2 separate regions of the Homo sapiens genome follow, and region 2 is linked to region 1. Evidence: promoter capture Hi-C in human tissues and cell types (Jung and others, 2019). All regions are on one chromosome and are shown on one strand. Each heading gives the region's core, a stretch centred on a gene start or on the middle of the fragment in contact. The rest is flanking DNA. Distances are from core to core; before and after follow the strand shown. Region 1 holds the start of EMP2 (epithelial membrane protein 2). Region 2 overlaps LOC105371075 (a long non-coding RNA gene).

Region 1 (4,770 bases), core at 1,457-3,956:
CGCGTCAGAGTCCCCACTTGGCCACAGAGCTGGGAAGCAGCCACATGTTGTCCCCCCCACCCCCCCACACACAATTATCTGACCCCCCCCTCCCGGCAAAAGGAGGGAGGCTGGACATCTGCTTCCCAAACAAACCTCGCCAAGCAGCCAGCAGTCCAGCGCCAGCCCATCTGGCCTGGAAGGACATTTATATATTTTCATCTCGACAGACTTCCCTTCCTGGTCCCGTCTGGCGGAGTTTACTATGACAAAGAAGTGGCCTTTGCTGTGCCCTCACTGACCTGGAAGGCTGTATAGCAGAGGCGAGGGCAGGAGAGTGTCACTCTATGCCTAGGGTGAAAAATGGGCTGGTTGATCCTCCCTGTTAATTACCTGTTGCGGGAAATTGGGGAGTCTGTGCACATATGCATGTGGTTTTAGCTCCTACTACGAAGATATTATGTGAGAGGCAGAGAAAAGATACTGAGGTGAAACATTCACTTCCGTTCCAGGAAGAAAGGATTTAAGTGCCATTACTGGGGTGAGGGTGGAGAAGCGGGGGCGGTTTGCTAAATGGATGTGCTCCATAGCCACAATAAAACGCCACCAAGCCCTTTTAGCCCCTCATTAGCTAGACCCTAATCTGGGGTGGTGCCAGCCAGAGCGGGTGCACCCCCTCCTCCAGCCCGAGGTGGGGCAGTGTCAGCCCCAAGCCTCACCCTCCTCACAGGGACGCTTCCGCCTGGCCCTGCCCTCACCCACTCAGCTGGTCGACTCCGTGGTTTCCAACACAAACACATTCTCTGGATTTCAGGCGCACCTCAATCTCTCCACTTGAGGGGCAGAGGAGGCTCCAGGCTATGTGGCCAGCCCTCTGCCTCCTACTCGACTCCCTGGCTCCCCATGGGATGGAGGTGGTGAGATCCAAAAACCCTCAGTGGGAAAACAGGTTCTGCACCTTCCTGCCACCTCCACGCCTCTCCCTGGGCTGTAGTCTTGGCATTTGCCAAGGCCCCCGTGGGCATCCACGCCCTGTTTTCCCCAGAAGGGTCTCCCCTCATTCCCTGCAAACCAGCAGGGCATCTCCAGGTGGAAAGAAGGGGAGGGCTTGGGAGGCAGATGGAGGTTCAAGGTCTAGTTCTTTGCATTTACCAGCTCAGTGGCCTTGAGCAAACCGACTTAGATCTCTAGCCTGTTTCCCCACTTGCAACAGGAGAGCGTGCTGGAAACAGCTCAGGGGTGAGGCTCCCAGGGAGAAACGGAGATGGAGGGCGAGCACCAGCCAACTGCAAACCTCCAGCAGCTCAGGTCGCCATCCTTCCCCTTGTGTGACTCCTGGGAAACCAGGACCCCGTCCCTTCCTCGTCCTCTTTAAGCTTTCTTAACTGAAGGCCGAATTCCAGGAAGAGGTGCCCAGCAATAATGTGTCGGTTCTTAGATTTCTCTCTGATTCAGACTGGAGTGCAGAGGTGGCTAAAGGCGGCTTTTAAAAAATTTTTATGATAAAATATGCATAACATCATAATCATCATTTTAACCGATGATAAGCATACAACTCAGTGGCATTAAATACCTTCACGATACTGTGTAACCATTGCCACTATGTATACCCAAAACTTTTTCATCCTCCCCAAGAAAAACTCTGTCCCATTAAACAGTAACTCCCGGTTCCCAGGTACCCCCAGGCCCTGGCAACCATCATTCTACTTTCTGTCTATAAAATTTGCCTATTCTAGGTGTCTCATAAAAGTGGAATCACACTGTATTTGAACTGGAGGCTTCTTAAGTCCCTCTCCAAGCCCCTTACTTAGACACAGCTGAATTATAAGATCAAGGTGCACACACACACACACACACACACACACACACCCTCAAAGCTTGGGAGGGGCAGTGCTCCCTTCCCCAAAACTGAAGCTGGCCTGGAGGGAGAGCTTTGCCCTGTGGTGTCTTCGGAGTCCCCATGTCCAGCCCCACATCTTCACCTAAAAGACCTCCCTGGAGCGTGCTCAGATCTCTGGATTTGGGGAGGGCGTAGAATACACACTACGAGCTGCAGCCTCTCCTACCTCTGGAACACATGGGTGCGGTCTCGCCTCTTTAAAGCCCCCCAAGCCCTTCTAGAGTTGGCAGGGAGAGAGGTGTCATCCCAGCAGCGCCTCCCGGCTCCTCCACCGTTCCTGACCCCCAAGAAGTCGCTCCTCGCCGCTCGGGGGCGCGACGGAGCAGCGGCGGGGGCCTAGAGGGGTACGCAGCCCAGGAGGACCCGCTGGCCCGGCCTGGCGCACCAGTCCTGCCCGCGAGGCGAGTCTGGGGACGCTGCCCGGGAATCCCTCACGCGACCTGGGGATCTCCCTGGACTCCAAGAGCCCCGGGTGTAAGTCCGGCGGGGCGAGGGGAGGCGCCCTGACTCCTCCCCAAACTTTTCCCGCCTGCTTCGGCTCAAAAGGCGTGGGAAGCTGTCCCGGGATGGCGAAGTGGAATTCTGGGGCCGGAGCGAGCGTGGCGCAGACCAGAGGTCGGCGGCATGGGTGGCACCTCGGCCCTCCCGTTACTGTCACCAATTCCGGGGGCTGCTCCCGGTCCAGTAAGTGGAGGGGTCGCGTCCCTGCTGCCCGGGCGTACACGATCCCGGGGCCCCCCCGATGTCGCCCCGCGCCCTGGGTGCGCCCACAACTCACCCGGCGCTGGCGGCTGCGCTGGCAGCTGGATCGACGGACTGGCTGGGGGTGCGAGGCGAGGCCGCCGGGCTGTTTTGAAGCTCTGGGCTGGGACTGCGCGCCCTCCCTCCACCCTCTAGGCGGCGGGGCCCCTCCTTCCCCGATCCCGCCTCCCGGGCCGTGACGCCAGGAGCCGGGAGAGCCGAGTGGGAGGGGCCGCCGGCGAAAGGAGGGGGCCCTGGAGGGAAAGGCCGAGGCCGGGAGCGCCCTGGCGCCCCCGCACCACCGTTCCCGCCCGCCTCCCTGCGGCTCTGTGGCCAGCTTTGGGGCGGAGCCGGTGGCACGGGCCCGGGGGAAAAGGGAGAAAGGGAGGCTCCCGGGAGCAAGGGTCTTCCCTTCTCTGCAGGTTTCCACATCCCTCTCATTCTCTTTCCTCTCCTCTTCTCCCCTTTTCTTCCTCTTCCCTAAGGAGTTTTGGAATCCGGGCTCCCTGCTCTAGAACCCCTTCTCTGGCCTTTTATGAACTTCCTGAGCTCGTCCATAATCTCCCCTGTCTCAGTTTCCTCTTCTGGGAATGGGAGTGATTATAGGTCGGAAGGTGGTAATACGTCCACAATGTTTGGCTCATGGTACCTGCTCCATAGACGTCAGCCATTGTTATTTTTATCATCTCACCTGGAGTCCTGGCCTTGGTGCGAGATGCCCAGCAACCAGTCTTCAGACTCTTCCAGGACCCCCCGTTCACTCCCCCCACCCGACCAGTACACACACACACACACACACACACACACACACACTCACACAAAGCACTCCCCACAGCCTTTCAACCCACAGTCCTGGTATTTAGTGTCCCTGGAAATGACATCAAAGGAACTGCCTTTCTTTCCAGCCTCAGTTTCCCCATCTGGAAACTGGGAGGGCTGATCTGCTCTAGGGGCTCTTGGGAGGATGGGGGAGGAGACCAGAGGCGCCTGAGCCCCATCGTGTGTGTGTGGAAGGAGGGAGTGGGAGTCAGTGTATTTTTACAAATTGAAGAAATTCCAAAACAGGGTCACAACATATAACAGTATATTTTAAACTTTTAATTTAACAAGTTCATGTTACTTGCACATACCCCAGAATACAAGGCAATTGACTTGTGCTACTGACAAGAGAATGAGAAACCCTTTTAAGAAATGTTAATTTATTGTGCAATCCTGTGCTCTGGTTGGACTCCATGTTTGTATTTTCTGTTGAGCATCTTTTTTTAGTCCTGCTGAGGAGCTCTGTCACGAGAGGGCCTTGTTGGCTCTAAATTAGAGATCCTTGGGGGATTTGAGATCCCCTCTAAAGGGCCACCCCCTCCCCCAGGCCTTGAGCTTCCCAAGTTGGCCTAGGGTCTGACCTGCCAAATCTCCTTTAATTCTACAGTTAACCAAGACTCCCATCCCCCAAGATAATTGTGTGTGTGTGTGTGTGTGTGTGTGTGTGTGTGTGTGTGTGTGTTTGGAGCTGGAGAGGGGACAGGAAGGCACTAATATGAACTGAGTCCTCTTCCTCCATAAAAGGGGAGGAGGGTGAGGTCTGGTTGCTATAGAGGAGGACCAGGAAGGGCCCACCTACCTGCCTATGGCCATGTGGAGGACAGAGAAAACTCCAGAGTCTCCCAGAATGGAAAGGCCAGGTAGGGGATGGAGCAGGCAGGTTTCTGCATTTGCTGAGGGCTTAGTGTGTGCCGGTTACTTTACAAACATAACCTTCAATAGAACACGGCAGCCCTGCAAAACAAGTTACCCTCATTTTATCCATGAAGAAACTAAGGCTCAGAGAAGCTACACCAGTAACTTACCCAAAGTCTCTATGCAGTTGATAAAGTTTGGATTTGAACCCAGACTCACTGCAGCAAACCCCATTCTCCTCTTTCCACCCTATCACTATTTACCAAATGCTAACCACACTCAAGCTCTAAATTTTGCCATATCCACCTTCCACCTGAACTGGTATTCACTTAATTGTTTTCTTTAAATTAACTCCGTTGATTTTAATATGTTTATTTGAAAAAGAAAGCCCTATATTGCTATGGTAAACAGGAAACCAGTGCCATCTGCCAAAAGTAGAAGACAAACTTATGAATATAAACACTATTGAAATAAAA
Region 2 (4,770 bases), core at 1,368-3,867, 1.3 Mb before region 1:
CATGTTGGCCAGGCTGGTGTCGAACTCCTGACCTCTAATGATCCACCCGCCTCAGCCTCCCAAAGTGCTGGGATTACAGGTGTGAGCCACTGTGCCTGGTCTACAGGAAATAATTAAAAAAAAATTAACTAGGTATGGTGGCATGTGTCTGTAGTCCTAGCTACTCAGGAGAATCACTTGAGCCTGGAAGTTTGAAGCTGCAAGTGAGCTATGATTGTGTTACTGCACTGCAGTCTGGGTGACAGAGCCAGATCCTGTCTCTAAAAAAAAATAATAAAAAATAAATAAAAAAAAAAATGAGGGGAAAAGCAAATATCCAGATGATTCCCTCCACCCCCAAAACAAACTGATTTGTCCTTAAGAATCTTATTTTATTTTTAAACACTTTGGGATTTTAAAAATAGAATTCCCCTGATGATTCTCTCACTTAAAGACTTGCATTTAGATCAAGTAACTTCAAGTGTCCAGGCACCAGAAATACTGCTCAGAACCATATATTTCCCCTCCAACATGCAGCATAGGTGTCAGTCTCATAAATAGGGGGAATGCCAGATGTGCCCAAGTATGGACTTAGCCAGTACAAAAGCGCAAATATATCGGACACGCAGACTTAGACAGGTTTGCTACATAACCAGAGAGATCACTGGATTTACTCAGTTCCAAATGAGCAGCTCCCCTTTTAAGCTTCTTCAAGCTTGGCATCTGTGGGACTTTGTAAATCCCCAGCAGAGCTCAGGGGAAGTGGTCCTGAATTGTTTAACAGCCACAGCAATTACTTTGTTTTATACACGACATTCTTACCTCATCCATCTGGGAGGACAACAGGTGGAGCAACTAAAAAAAAAATTGTGTGAGTGCTTGAGTGGCTCCAAGTTGAATATTAAACAGAAACCCTCAGTGCCCCACGATTCTGGAGATTGGTGTGCATTTGTGATATACAACAGAAGTCAAATCAATATTCAACCAGAGAAACAAATCAGGAGTGAACAGTTTCATACTTAGTCAAGTGTGCTGAGCTCTCCAAGGATGTAGAAAAGAAAGATTTCCTCGGTCCTCTGTGCATGCCCCAAAGGACATCTAAAATCTTCCCAAGGTTAACACCAGAATAAAAGAGACCTTTGGCAATTGTGATATTGTGAGAATTTCCATTCGATAAAGATAATGGAATTTTTAAAGTACTTCTTGGTTGCTATTAGGTCCATGCTGGGAAAATGATGGAAAAAATCCAGTAAAAATATTTTTTTAATATTAGTGGGAAATAATATAGAGAAAAAGAAAATCCCCCGCTAATGAGGAACAATCTAATTTCTGGAAATGGCCACTGTGTTGGATAGATTTTCTGTAATTTCGATTATTGGTATGATTGATTAATCTTGGGATGGCCAACAAGAATGTAAAGAGTTGTCTGGTCACAGATTCTTTTTTTTTTTTTTTTTAATTTTATTGTACTTTAAGTTCTGGGATACATGTGCACAATGTGCAGGTTTGTTACATAGGTATACACATGCCATGGTGGTTTGCTGCACCCATCAACCCGTCATCTACATTAGGTATTTCTCCTAATGCTATCCCTCCCCTAGCCCCCCACCCCCCGACAGGCCCTGGTGTGTGATGTTCCCCTCCCTGTGCCCATGTGTTCTCATTGTCTGGTCACAGATTCTAGGGAATGGGAGATTGAGAGTACATCAGTTTATGCCTTTTTCAGCATCTCGTCTTATCTCACTTTGTAAATTCTATGAGCTGAAGGAAAGGTCATGTGTCTCTTCTTTTAGGACACAGTCCAGTCCAGGTATCTGAGTGGTCACCCCATGTCTGTGTGTCTCCTGAAATGGCGATGTCTTGTGGGGTTTCTAGTTGCAGGTGCCATCAGAATTTGGAGGCCAAAAAAGTAATGGTGGTGGTCCAAGGTGGACATCTGTCAAATGGGTAGTTTGAAAGATGGATTCAGGAGCTGAGATGCTGTGTCTATTATGGATGTTGAGACAGAGAATCATGTTATCTAACTTTTGGGAAGAGTGGAAAACGTCATCTCGTCCCACAACTGCCAGGAGCGATGCAATGGAGGATTCGAAATCACGTGCCGCGACAAGCTAGAGTTACTCCTCCAAGCCACCAGGTGTCACTGGTGTGCCAAGGCGGCAACGAAGCCAAGTTTTCCCGGTGGATGCGGACACTGGAAACCAGCAATCCTTTTAGTTCCCCAACCTGGTTGCCCATCAGAATTCCTTGAGAAATTTAAATAATAATTCTTGGAAATCACTTCAGACCCACTGAATCAATCGAGGCCCAGAAGTGAGTATCTAAAAAAAATTGTTATATGGAAATTGTCATTATTTGGGATGTGTGTGCTGGGGGATTGCTGCTGTATATTATATCTCTATTTAAATAAATGTCCCAGGTGATTCTGTAGTTGCAGCAGGTGTTTGGAAAAATGGAACCAATTTCTTTAACAAAGAAGAAGACTAATTTTCCAAGAGTTGAGGGACTTGCTTAATGCCACCCAAGACAGAGCCATGCTTAGAGGCTGGGCACCTCAACTCAAGTGGGGTCCCTTCCCTCTAGGCAGGGCTGCAGCTCCTAAAGTAGTTCCGGAGACTTCTGGGAAGTTTTGTGCCCTCTCTTGCACTCCCCCCCCCGCCCCCACCAAGCCCAAAAGACACATCCACAGAAGAACTGGTTTATTTGGCAGAATATAATCTTCTTATCCTCTCTGATAGCTCTCCTCCCACCTCATTCTCCAGAGCTCCCACATACAGAGGTCTGATCCCCCTCCTCCAGGTGAGTGATCTCCATGGGCAATTGGACAAAGCAGAATGGCCTACGCTCTGGCACAGCTGATGGGTTAACATGTAACATTTATTGAGCATCTAGTACGTGCCAGGCACTTTCCCATCCATTTGAATGTCATATCAACATTCTGAGAACTACAAATTATTATTTCAATTTACCAAATGAACAGACAGGCTCAGAGAAGTGAAGAAACTCAATCAAGATCACAAAGCTCAGAATTACAGAGATTCAAGCCCAGGTATTTTTTTTTTTTTTTTGAGATGGAGTCTTGCTCTGTCGCCCAGGCTGGAGTGCAGTGATGTGATATCCCCTCACTGTAACGTCTGCCTCTCAGGTTCAAGTGAGTCTCCTGCCTCAGTCTCCCGAGTAGCTGTGACTACAGGCGTACACCATCACACCCAGCTAATTTTTGTATATTTAGTAGAGATGGGGTTTCGCCATCTTGGCCAGGCTGGTCTTGAACTCCTGACCTCAAGTGAACCACCTACCTTGGCTTCCCAAAGTGCTGGGATTACAGGTGTGAGCCACTGTGCCTGGCCTCAAGCCAGGGCTTTTGGGCTTCAAAGCCATATTAATCATCATCATACGGGGTCCCCATAACTCTCCCATCACATCCAAAGAATTTCAGCTATTCTCACCTAGTTTAGAAACTAACCCACTCTCCGGGTTAAAAAAAAATAAAGTCTGTGAGTGTCTTTTTCAGGTGAAAGTAAGATCCAGGGATATTATTTAATACTTTATAAAATTTCCTAAAATATTGAGGTTTGAAGGAAATAAACTATACAGCAAACTTAGTGCACAAATCATCACTTTTCTCTGGTGGATCTCAAAGAACTTTTAAATCAGAGAATTCTTAACTGGGAGTAGACCTTGGTGAGGTCGGCATTAGTGTTAATGAAGTCTTTCATGTTCTTGACATCCGAGACATTTTCCCGAGGATGGAGGTCAAGTCCTGGCATTTGTAATCAGTTGATAAAAGACATGTGTGCACAGCCACATGGGAAATTTATGAATATTATCAAATAACGATGTAGGGTATAATTAAGGTTGAGCTATTAAGTACTAATTAATTAAGCTGTCATATTTTAATCAAGGAATTGATTGTTTCTGTATAGAGCTCTGATGGTTCCGCATCTTTGCAAAGCTCTGGAACCCTGATTTGCAAAGATTAACAAATTAAAAAGCCACACTTTAGCTATTACGTCCTCTGCAAGAGGCAGTGAGCTTTTCTGCTTCCTGGAGAGTGTGGATTCAACAAATTTCTGATTCTTTCCAAAAGCCAAAAAGGTAGGTGAGCGCTCTTGGATAGGCCCAGACCCAAAGGTTGTACTTAGGGTGGTCATTATTCAGATTTTTTTAAAAAATAATTTTTTGAGTACCTACTCTGTGCTTGAAAATACGTTATCTTGCTTTATCGTCAAAGCAACCCACTTTACAGAAGAGGAAACTGAGGTTTAAAGAGGGATTGAAACCTTCTCACTGTCCTGTAAGTGAGGCCAAATGTCTTCAGGGGAGGAGCAGTGGGTTTGAGTTTGTTTTCTCTGAGACTGCAAGGACTGAGCTCTCTTTGCTTTTGATGGTACCATTGTAGCTTTTTAATTTTTATTTATTTATTTATTTATTTTTGAGGCAGAGTCTCACTCTGTCGCCAGGCTGGAGTGTAGTGGCGCGATCTTGGCTCACTGCAACCTCCGCCTCCTGGGTTCCAGCAATTCTCCTGCCTCAGCCTCCTGAGTAGCTGGAACTACAGGTGTGCGCACCACGCCCGGTTAATTTTTGTATTTTTACTAGAGATGGGGTTTCACCATGTTGACCGGGATTGTCTCAATCTCTTGACCTTGTGATGTGCCTGCCTTGGCCTCCCAAAGTGCTGGGATTACAGGCATGAGCCACCACACCAGCCTATTTTTATTTTTATTCCATTTTGCATCACTACTTCCTCTCTTGCCAATCTCTCTTCCTATTGCGTGAAGATTGCTT

What was found. Contacts are between HindIII fragments. The study calls those that stand out against the background at their distance.
Region 2: a fragment that was not itself captured here is called in contact with the fragment with the promoter of EMP2 in region 1 in 1 of the 25 tissues and cell types used here (dorsolateral prefrontal cortex).

Annotation. Positions count from the first base shown.
Region 1 is chr16:10,577,892-10,582,661 of GRCh38, forward strand. EMP2 (epithelial membrane protein 2) reads right to left here and starts at 2,707. Exons shown (of 5, transcript NM_001424.6): 1 at 2,658-2,707. RefSeq lists an enhancer at 733-1,310 and silencers at 981-1,275, 2,628-2,867. The HindIII fragment of the contact is 8,569 bases long and covers 1,606-4,770 here.
Region 2 is chr16:9,295,566-9,300,335 of GRCh38, forward strand. It overlaps LOC105371075 (a long non-coding RNA gene), which reads left to right. Exons shown (of 2, transcript XR_933060.2): 2 at 1,855-2,409. Among named protein-coding and RNA genes, the nearest start is that of LINC02177, 58 kb to the right of the region's middle. The HindIII fragment of the contact is 5,241 bases long and covers 1-4,770 here.